Linked DNA regions of Homo sapiens: region 1 is linked to region 2. The links are contacts of gene promoters, found by promoter capture Hi-C in blood cells and fetal thymus (Javierre and others, 2016). All regions are on one chromosome and are shown on one strand. The core of a region is centred on a gene start or on the middle of the fragment in contact, and the rest is flanking DNA. Distances in the headings are between cores, read along the strand shown.

Evidence for each region. The method cuts DNA at HindIII sites, captures the fragments that hold promoters and counts their contacts. A CHiCAGO score of 5 or more calls a contact.
Region 1: a contact is called between a fragment that was not itself captured here and the fragment with the promoter of LMOD3 in region 2, in 1 of 17 cell types (M2 macrophages). The highest score is 5.5, in M2 macrophages.

What each region holds. Positions count from the first base shown.
Region 1 is chr3:69,638,125-69,642,675 of GRCh38, reverse strand. No RefSeq gene overlaps it. Among named protein-coding and RNA genes, the nearest start is that of MITF, 99 kb to the left of the region's middle. The HindIII fragment of the contact is 5,935 bases long and covers 28-4,551 here.
Region 2 is chr3:69,121,247-69,125,437 of GRCh38, reverse strand. LMOD3 (leiomodin 3) reads left to right here and starts at 2,843. Exons shown (of 3, transcript NM_198271.5): 1 at 2,843-3,345. The coding sequence starts at 3,052. RefSeq lists an enhancer at 2,789-3,988. The HindIII fragment of the contact is 5,880 bases long and covers 1-4,191 here.

The sequences.
Region 1 (4,551 bases), core at 1,746-4,245, 520 kb before region 2:
TAACTTGGATAATGCCTGGCATAAGCTTCAATCAATGGGAACTGCTAAGATGATGATGATGATTATTATTAATTATTACTGTCACCAATGACCTTAGCAAAACCAAGACTTAACCCTTCACTGCCACATACTCCTAATTCTTTTCTTTAACTTTTATTTTAGATTCAGGAATATATGTGCAGGTTTGTTATATGGGTAGACTTCGTTTCACAGGGGTTTGGTGTACAGATGATTTTGTCACCATCTACTAAGACTGGTACCTGATAGTTATTTTTCCTGATCTGTTCCCTCCTCCCATCCTCCCACCTCAAGTAGGCCCCACTGTCTGTTGTTCCCCTCCCTATGTCCATTGGTTTTCATTATTTAGCTCCCACTTATAAGTGAGAACATGCAATATTTGGTTTTTCTGTTCCTCCGTTAGTTTGCTAAGAATAATGGCCTCTAGTTCCATCCATGTTCCTGCAAAAGAAATGATCTCATTCTTTTTATGGCTGCATAGTATTCCATGGTGTATATGTACTATATTTCTTTATCCAGTCTACTGTTGATGGGCCTTTATGTTGATTCCATGTCTTTGCTATTGTGAATAGTGCTGCAATGAACACATGCGTGCACGTGTCTTTATGGTAAAACGATTTATATTTCTTTGGGTAATGGGATTGCTGGGTCAAACGGTAGTTCTATTTTTAAGTCTTTGAGGAATTGCCACACTGCTTTCCAGCATGGTTGAGCTAGTTTACACTCCCACCAGCAGAGTATAAATGTTCCCTTTTCTCCGCAGCCTTGCAGCATTTGTTATTTTTTGACTTTTTGATAATAGCCATTCTAACTGGTGTGAGATGGTATCTCTGTGTGGTTTTGATTTACACTTCTCTAATGATTAGTGATATTGAGCTTTTTCATATGTTTGTTGGCTGCATGTATGTCTTCTTTTGAAAAGTATTTATTCATGTCCTTTGCCCACTTTTTCATGTGGTTGTTTTCTATTGTAAATTTGTTTAAGTTCCTTATAGATGCTGATAGATCCTGGAATTAAACCTTTGTCAGATGCATAGTTTGGAAATATTTTCTCCTATTCTGTAGGTTGTATGTTTATTTATTCATTTATTTATTTATTTTTTATTTTTTGAGGCAGACTCTCTCTCTGTCACCCAGGCTGGAGTGCAGTGGCGCCATCTTGGCTAATTGCAACCTCTGCCTCCTGGGTTCAAGTGATTCTCGTTCCTCAGCCTCCTGAGTAGCTGAGACCACAGGCGTGTGCCACCATGCCGAGCTAAATTTTTGGTATTTTTAGTAGAGACGGGGTTTTAACATATTAGCCAGGCTGGTCTCAAACTTCTGGCCTCAAGTGATCTGCCTGCCTCAGCCTCCCAAACTGCTGGGATTACAGGCATGAGCCACTGCGCCTGGCTGTTTATCTGTTTATTATGTTGATAGTTTCTTGTGCTGTGTCAAAGTTCTTTAGTTTAATTAGATCCCATTTGTCAATTTTTGCTTTTGTTGCAATTGCTTTTGGTCTCTTTGTCATGAAATCTTTGCCAGTTTCTATGTCCAGAATAGTATTTCCTAGGTTATCTTCCGAGGTTTTTATAGTTTTAGGTTCTCCATTTAATTCTTTAATCCATTTTGAGTTGAGTTTTGTATATAGTATAAGGAAGGGGTCCCGTTTCAATCTTCTGCATATTGCTAGACGTTTATGCCCGCACTATTTATTGAATAGAGAGTCCTTTTCACCCTGGCTTGTTATTGTCAGCTTTGTTGTAGATGTGTGGCATTATTTTGGGGCTCTCTATTCTGCTCCATTGGTCTATGTGTCTGTGTTTGTACCAGTATCATTCTGTTTTGGTTATTGTAGCCCTGTAATATAATTTGAAGTTGGGTAACATGATGCTTCCTGCTTTATTCTTGCTTAGGAATATCTTGACTATTTGGGATCTTTTTTGGTTCTATATGAATTTTTTTTTTTTTTTTAGACGGAGTCTCACTCTGTTGCCAGGCTGGAGTGCAGTGGCACGATGTCGGCTCACTGCAACCTCCACCTCCCCGGTTCAAGCGATTCTCCCACCTCAGCCTCCTGAGTAGCTGGGATAACAGGCACGTGAAACCACACCCAGCTAATTTTTGTATTTTCAGTAGAGATGGGGTTTCACCATGTTGGCCAGGATGGTCTTGATCTCCTGACCTCATGATCCACTCACCTCAGCCTCCCAAAGTGCTGGGATTACAGGCATGAGCCACCGCACCGGGCCAGTTCCATATGAACTTTTTAACAGCTTTTCCTATTTTTTTTGAAAAATGTAATTGGTAGTTTGATAGGAATAGCATTGACTCTATAAATTGCTTTGTGCAGTATGGCCATTTTAACAATATTGATTCTCTTTATCCATGAGCATAGAATGTTTTTCCATTTGCTTCTGTAGTATCTTAATTCTTTCAACAGTGCTCTGTAATTTTCATTGTAGAGATCTCTCACTTTCTGGTTAGCAGTATCCCTAGGTATTTTATTCTTTTTGTGGCAATTGTGACTGGAATCTCATTCCTGATTTGGCTCTTGGCTTGAATGTCATTGGGGGTTAAGAATGCTACTGATTTTTGTCTGTTTATTTTGTATCCTGAAACTTTGCTGACGTTGCTTATTAGTTCAATGAGCTTTTTTGGCAGAGACTATGGGGTTTTCTAGGTATAGAATCATGTCATCTGCAAACAGGGATAGTTTGACTTATTCTTTTCCTATCTGGATGCCTTCTATTTCTTTCTCTTGCCTGATTGTTCTGGCCAGGACTTCCAAAACTGTGTTGAATAGAATACTCTTACTTCTTTCCCCATCCAGGCTTTTAATGCTAGTGATGTTTTGTAACTCCCAGAAAGATGCTAAAAATCAATAAAACTTTCTGTTGTATTAGTTGCCCTGATTTGCAAGTATATACTATGTCTGATGTTCAAGTCTTGTTGTAAACAGGATACAATGGAATTATTTATCCCACGATAAGCGATAGTCACCATGGTGGTTAATTTTATGTGTCAACTTGATTGTGCCATTGGGTGCCCAGATATTTAGTTAAACATTATTCTGTGTGTGTTTATAAAGGTGTTTGTGAATGAGATTAACATTTGACTTGGTGGACGGAGAAAAGTAAATTGCCCAACCCAATGTGGGTGAGCCTCATCCAATCTGTTGAAGGCCTGATTAGAACAAAAGGCAGAGTAGGGAGAATCTCCTCTTTCTGCCTAACTGTCTTCAGGCTGAGACATTGATCTCCTGCCTTCAAACTTGGACTCAGATTGTAATTTACACATTTGGCTCTTCTGCTTCTCAGGCCCTTGGACTTGGACTACAACTATACCATCAGCTCTCTTAGGTCTCCAGATTGCCAACTACAGCATCCATAACTGTGTGAGCCAATTTCTTATAATCTCTTTCTACACACACACACACACACACACACACTCACACACACCACATACACATCCTATTGGTTGTTTTTCTGGAGAACTTTGGCTAATACAGTTACCATCTAACTCATGCTATTTTAAAGAAAAGACAGTGAAATGTTGTTTCTTTCAAATTAAGTAATGGTTGCAAAGATTAACACTAAAATATTTAATTGCTTCAAATGTCTTTGTTTAAAATACATACTAGGAAGCCCTAGCCAAAGTAATTTGTCAAGAGGAAGAAATTAAAGGCATCAAGATAGGAAGAGGGGAAGTCAAACTATCTCTCTTTGCAGATGATGTGATTCTATACCTAGAAAACCCCTTAGTCTCTGTCCCAAAATTTCTAGAACTGATAAACAACTTCAGTAAAGTTTCAGGATGCAAAATCAATATACAAAACTCAGGAACATTTCCATACACCAATAACTCCAAGCTGAGAGCCAAATTCACAATAGCCACAGACACACAAAAATTAGTTAGGAATACAGTTGACCAGGGAGGTGAAAGATCTCTACAATGAAAATTATAAAACACCACTGAAAGAAATCAGAGATGACACAAACAAATGGAAAAACAGTCTATGCTCATGGACAGGAGAAATTAATATTGTTAAAATGGGCATATTGCCCAAAGCAATTTATAGATTCCATACAATTTCCATTAAACTACCAATGTAATTTTCACAGATTTAGAAAAAGCTATTCTAAATTTATATGAAAGAAACAAAGAGAACAAAATAGTCAAGGCAATCCTAAGCAAAAAGAACAAAGCCAGAGGCATCACACTACCTGACTTCAAACTATAGGGTTACAGTAATCAAAACAGCATGTTACTGGTACAGAAACAGACACATAGACCAAGGAAACAGAATAGAGAATGCAGAAATAATGCCACACATCTACAACCATCTGATCTTTGACAAAGCTGACAATAACAAGCAATGGGAAAAGGATTCCCTATTCAATAAATGCTGCTGGCATAACTGTCTAGCCATATGCAGAAGATTGAAACTGTACCCTTCCTTTCACCATATACAAAAATCAACTCAAAATGGATTAAATACTTAAATGTAAGACCTAAAACTATTTAAACCCTAGGAGAAAAACCTAGGAAATA
Region 2 (4,191 bases), core at 1,594-4,093:
TGATGGTCCACAAATCAGTGGTCTACAAAGTGGTCTACCTCCCTGCCCACCAAGGCTCAACTCTTCCCCCTTTTACAGGGACTAAAAGAAGACCTGGCCAGGCATGGTGGCTCACGCCTGTAATCCAGCACTTTGGAAGGCCGAGATGGGCAGATCACCTGAGGTCAGGAGTTCAAGACCAGCCTGGCCAACATGGTGAAAACCCATCTCTACTAAAAATACAAAAATTAGCCGGGTGTGGTGGTACACGCCTGTAGTCTCAACTACTGGGGAGGCTGAAGCACAAGAATCACTTGAACCCAGGAGGCAGAGGTTGCAGTGAGCCGAGATCATACCACCGTACTCCAGCCTGGGCAATAGAGTGAGACTCAGTCTCAAAAAAAAAAAAAAAAAAAAAAAAGAAGAAGAGAAGACCTGATAGGCGAGAGGCCAGGGATAAGTTGCCAGTACATAACTGTGTCCTTTGAAAATTCTCATTCAAGTAAATTGGAAATACCTTTCTGGGGCATTAATTACATATGAAAAGCCTTTCAACCTGGAATGCTCAAGATAAAACACTAGGGTAGGAAGAAAATATTATAACTTTCATTTCAAACTCACACTTGATTTGATTTTTTTTTTCTTCCTTTTTCACAAATTTTATCAATAAAATATCCTTGGACAGATACACAAGAAACTAAAATCCTTGGATACTTTTGGAGAAAGGAATGGGGGTGTCTCAAGTTTCAAACTTACATATATATGAAATGTTGGAATGGTAACATGTATATCTGTTTGTTTGTTTTTATTTATTTATTTTAAGATGGAGTCTTGCTCTGCCACCCAGGCTGGAATGCAGTTGTGTGATCTCAGCTCACTGCAGCCTCTGCCTCCCAGGTTCAGGTGATTCTCTGCCTCAGCTTCCCGGGTAGCTGGGGCTACAGGTGCCTGCTACCACGCCTGGCTAATTTTTGTATTTTTAGTAGAGATAGAGTTTTGCTATATTGGCCAGGCTGGTCTTGAACTCCTGACCTCAGGTGATCTGCCCGCCTCGGCCTCCCAAAGTGCTGGGATTACAGGCATGAGCACGGCGCCCGGCCAACATGTATAGTATTTGTAAATATTTAATATAAGTAGATTGGAGATGGGTCCTAGTAGGTTGGTGCAAAAGTAATTGTGATTTTTGCTGTTACTTTAATCTACATATAAAAAGTATTTAATTTCTTCGTATTCTGTGACCTAGCAATTTCACTTTTTAGAATTTGTTCAATTTACTCTAAAGAAATAAACTTGTGTGTTTATAAACTATTTAGGTATAGGGATATTTATTAAAGAACTATTTGTGCTTGTGAGAATTGAAAACATTCTAAATATCCAACAATTGAGGATTGGTTATACAAATTATGGTACATCCATATAAAGAATCCTAACAGAGGGCAATAAAAAATTATTTAGTAGTAGAGTACACAGTTGCCTAGAAAAAAAGAATCCTGACTTTCTCAGTCAAAAAAACAGATGAGAAAAAATGATAGAGTTTGTATGCCTAAAAGAAAGGACTGGAATGAAAAAACTGAAATGTTAATAGTGGTAGCTTCACAGTGAGGTAAGGGGAAGATTTTGTTCTGTGCCTTTCTATGTTATCCTAACTCTTGTACAATGAATGTATATTTCGGAATAAGAATATATTTACGAGCCAGGCACGGTGGCTCACGCCTGTAATCCCAGAACTTTGGGACACCGAGGCAGGTGGATTGCTTGAACTCAGAAATTCGAGACCAGCCTGAGCAATATGGCAAAACCCTGTCTCTACAAAAAATACAATTAGCTGGGTGTAGTGGTGCATGCCTGTGGTCCCAGCTTGATCCTGGGAGGCAGAGGTTGCAGTGAGCTGAGATCGCAGCACTGCCCTCCAGCCTGGGTGACAGAGCCAGACCCTGTCTTAAATATATATATAATAAAACTTGTATATTATATATTATTGTACCCTTTGTCACACAAATAATGGCATGTAAAACACACTGTTTTGTACTTTGCTATATTGTGTAACCTTGTACACACGTTGTTTCACCCATGTAGGGGTATATCTGTAGGATACACTTCTCAAAGTGGAATTGCTGGGTCAAAGGAAATGGGCATTTGTAATTTGGACAAATGTTGCATATTGCCCCTTCAGGGTTTGAAAACAAAATCTTCTCATAGTTTCTTTTAGTATATTAGTGGTCTGGATTTCTTTTTTAACACTTCACTTTAGAGCCATTTTCATTGATATTGGCTTAATGGATACTTAATAAGAAAAGCAAATAATTTAAAATATTAAACTCACTTATAGTGGAAATCCAAGTGCTGGTTGTCCCCATCTGTTAGATCACAGGATCTAGATGCAAACAGGACATCTTGCAAAGGTTCGGCTTACACAGAGGATGAGTGACATAGCAAGACCTCTGTTCCACTGTGCACCACTTTATTTGCTTCCACACTCACCTTGTAGGGAAGAGGCAGACCCTAAGAGCTTGATTTCTACCTTCAAGTGAATTCTTTACTTCAGAAACAACTCAGGTTGCTGGTTGGATTTCCCTTCTGAAATATTGTAAGTTGCTTTAATATTTAAATAAAAACAAGTGGAATCCCCTGGAGTATTGGGGTATGTATGTATGAGCTGCATGAATTTGTGTATGGCAATATGATGGCATATAGGAAGATAATTAATTTTATTCCTGCAGAGATTCTGTAGTCTCTGCTAGTCTCTGGCAAACATAGCAGCTGTACTGAAATGTCAGATGGATTTGCGCAGCTGACTCAAGTTGCCAAAAAGAGAGCAGCATAGTTGTTCCATAAATTGACCCCATCCAGCCAAGCCCTGCTTAATATAGATCCGGCAAGAGCTTAGCTGTGATCACTCCTAGCTGCTCAGCAAACCACTGAGGTTCCTGGGAAAAAAAAAAAAATATCTCAAGGGTGTGTTAACTTGGGACACTCGTTAACTGGGGGACCTTCTTGAGGCTTTTTTCCTTCTTTTTAAAAATCATCTTTGATTATTCTTCTTTTCTAGTAAAATAATATTTAGAAAAAATAATGTCAGAGCACAGCAGAAATTCAGATCAAGAAGAACTTCTCGATGAGGAGATTAATGAAGATGAAATCTTGGCCAACTTGTCTGCTGAAGAACTGAAAGAACTGCAGTCGGAAATGGAAGTCATGGCCCCTGACCCCAGCCTTCCCGTGGGAATGATTCAGAAAGATCAAACTGACAAGCCACCGACAGGAAACTTCAATCATAAATCTCTTGTTGATTATATGTATTGGGAAAAGGCATCCAGGCGCATGCTGGAAGAGGAACGAGTTCCTGTCACCTTTGTGAAATCCGAGGTAACCAGAGATTTGTGTACAACCGAGAAATGGCTGCCTGGGATGGGCTGTTAGGTCTCTCTGTTGTAACTGTGATTTCTCAAGACTCCAGGGTTTGGTTCTGCTTTGTTTTTGCCATATCTAGATTAAACCATAATATTTAATCCTACTCCGACTGGAACTTTCTGAAACACATTTATATTTACAAGGGGAAAATTGGGTAATTTCTTGCAAATGTCTCTTTTTAAAAATTGCTGTCGGGTTTGCTGTGTCAGAAAGCCTGTGTTCTATTGCCACGATACTTAGTGACTTAACTCATAACCCAGAGGCAGTTGTCCTTACCTCTCTCTTTCTTTTTTATTGCAGGCCCCTTTGAGAAAGTAATGACAGCTCTGTAGCCTCTGTCTCTCTGGCACATCCAAACATACGCAGTGTTTCGCACACAGTGTCAAACATTTCAGTCCTCCTGAAGTCTGGCCACACAACCTGCAATTAAACCAAGTCGAATAACCAGAAAATGTCTTATATTATTACTATGTATTGGCTGTCAGTGATGACATTTAGAAATCGATGGCTATTAAGTGGTTTTGAAGCTAGTTCTTCACTTTCTAAAACCTGAAAGCTAGAATTGTTAACTCTGCAAACTTACTGTGCATGAGCATAATTTTTTTTTTTATGTTCCACTTGAAAATGACTTAACAAAAAGAGGACAGAGATGCCTCCTAGGTAAAGTCTCTTTAGGTTATGCCTGTTTACAAAGATACATCTTGTTAAATTACTCTGAAGCTGGCTGTAATTAAGGAAAGTTGTCAATTGGTTTTACAGTCAGTAGAGTTTAAACATGTGCTAAGATTAAGAAAAGAAACA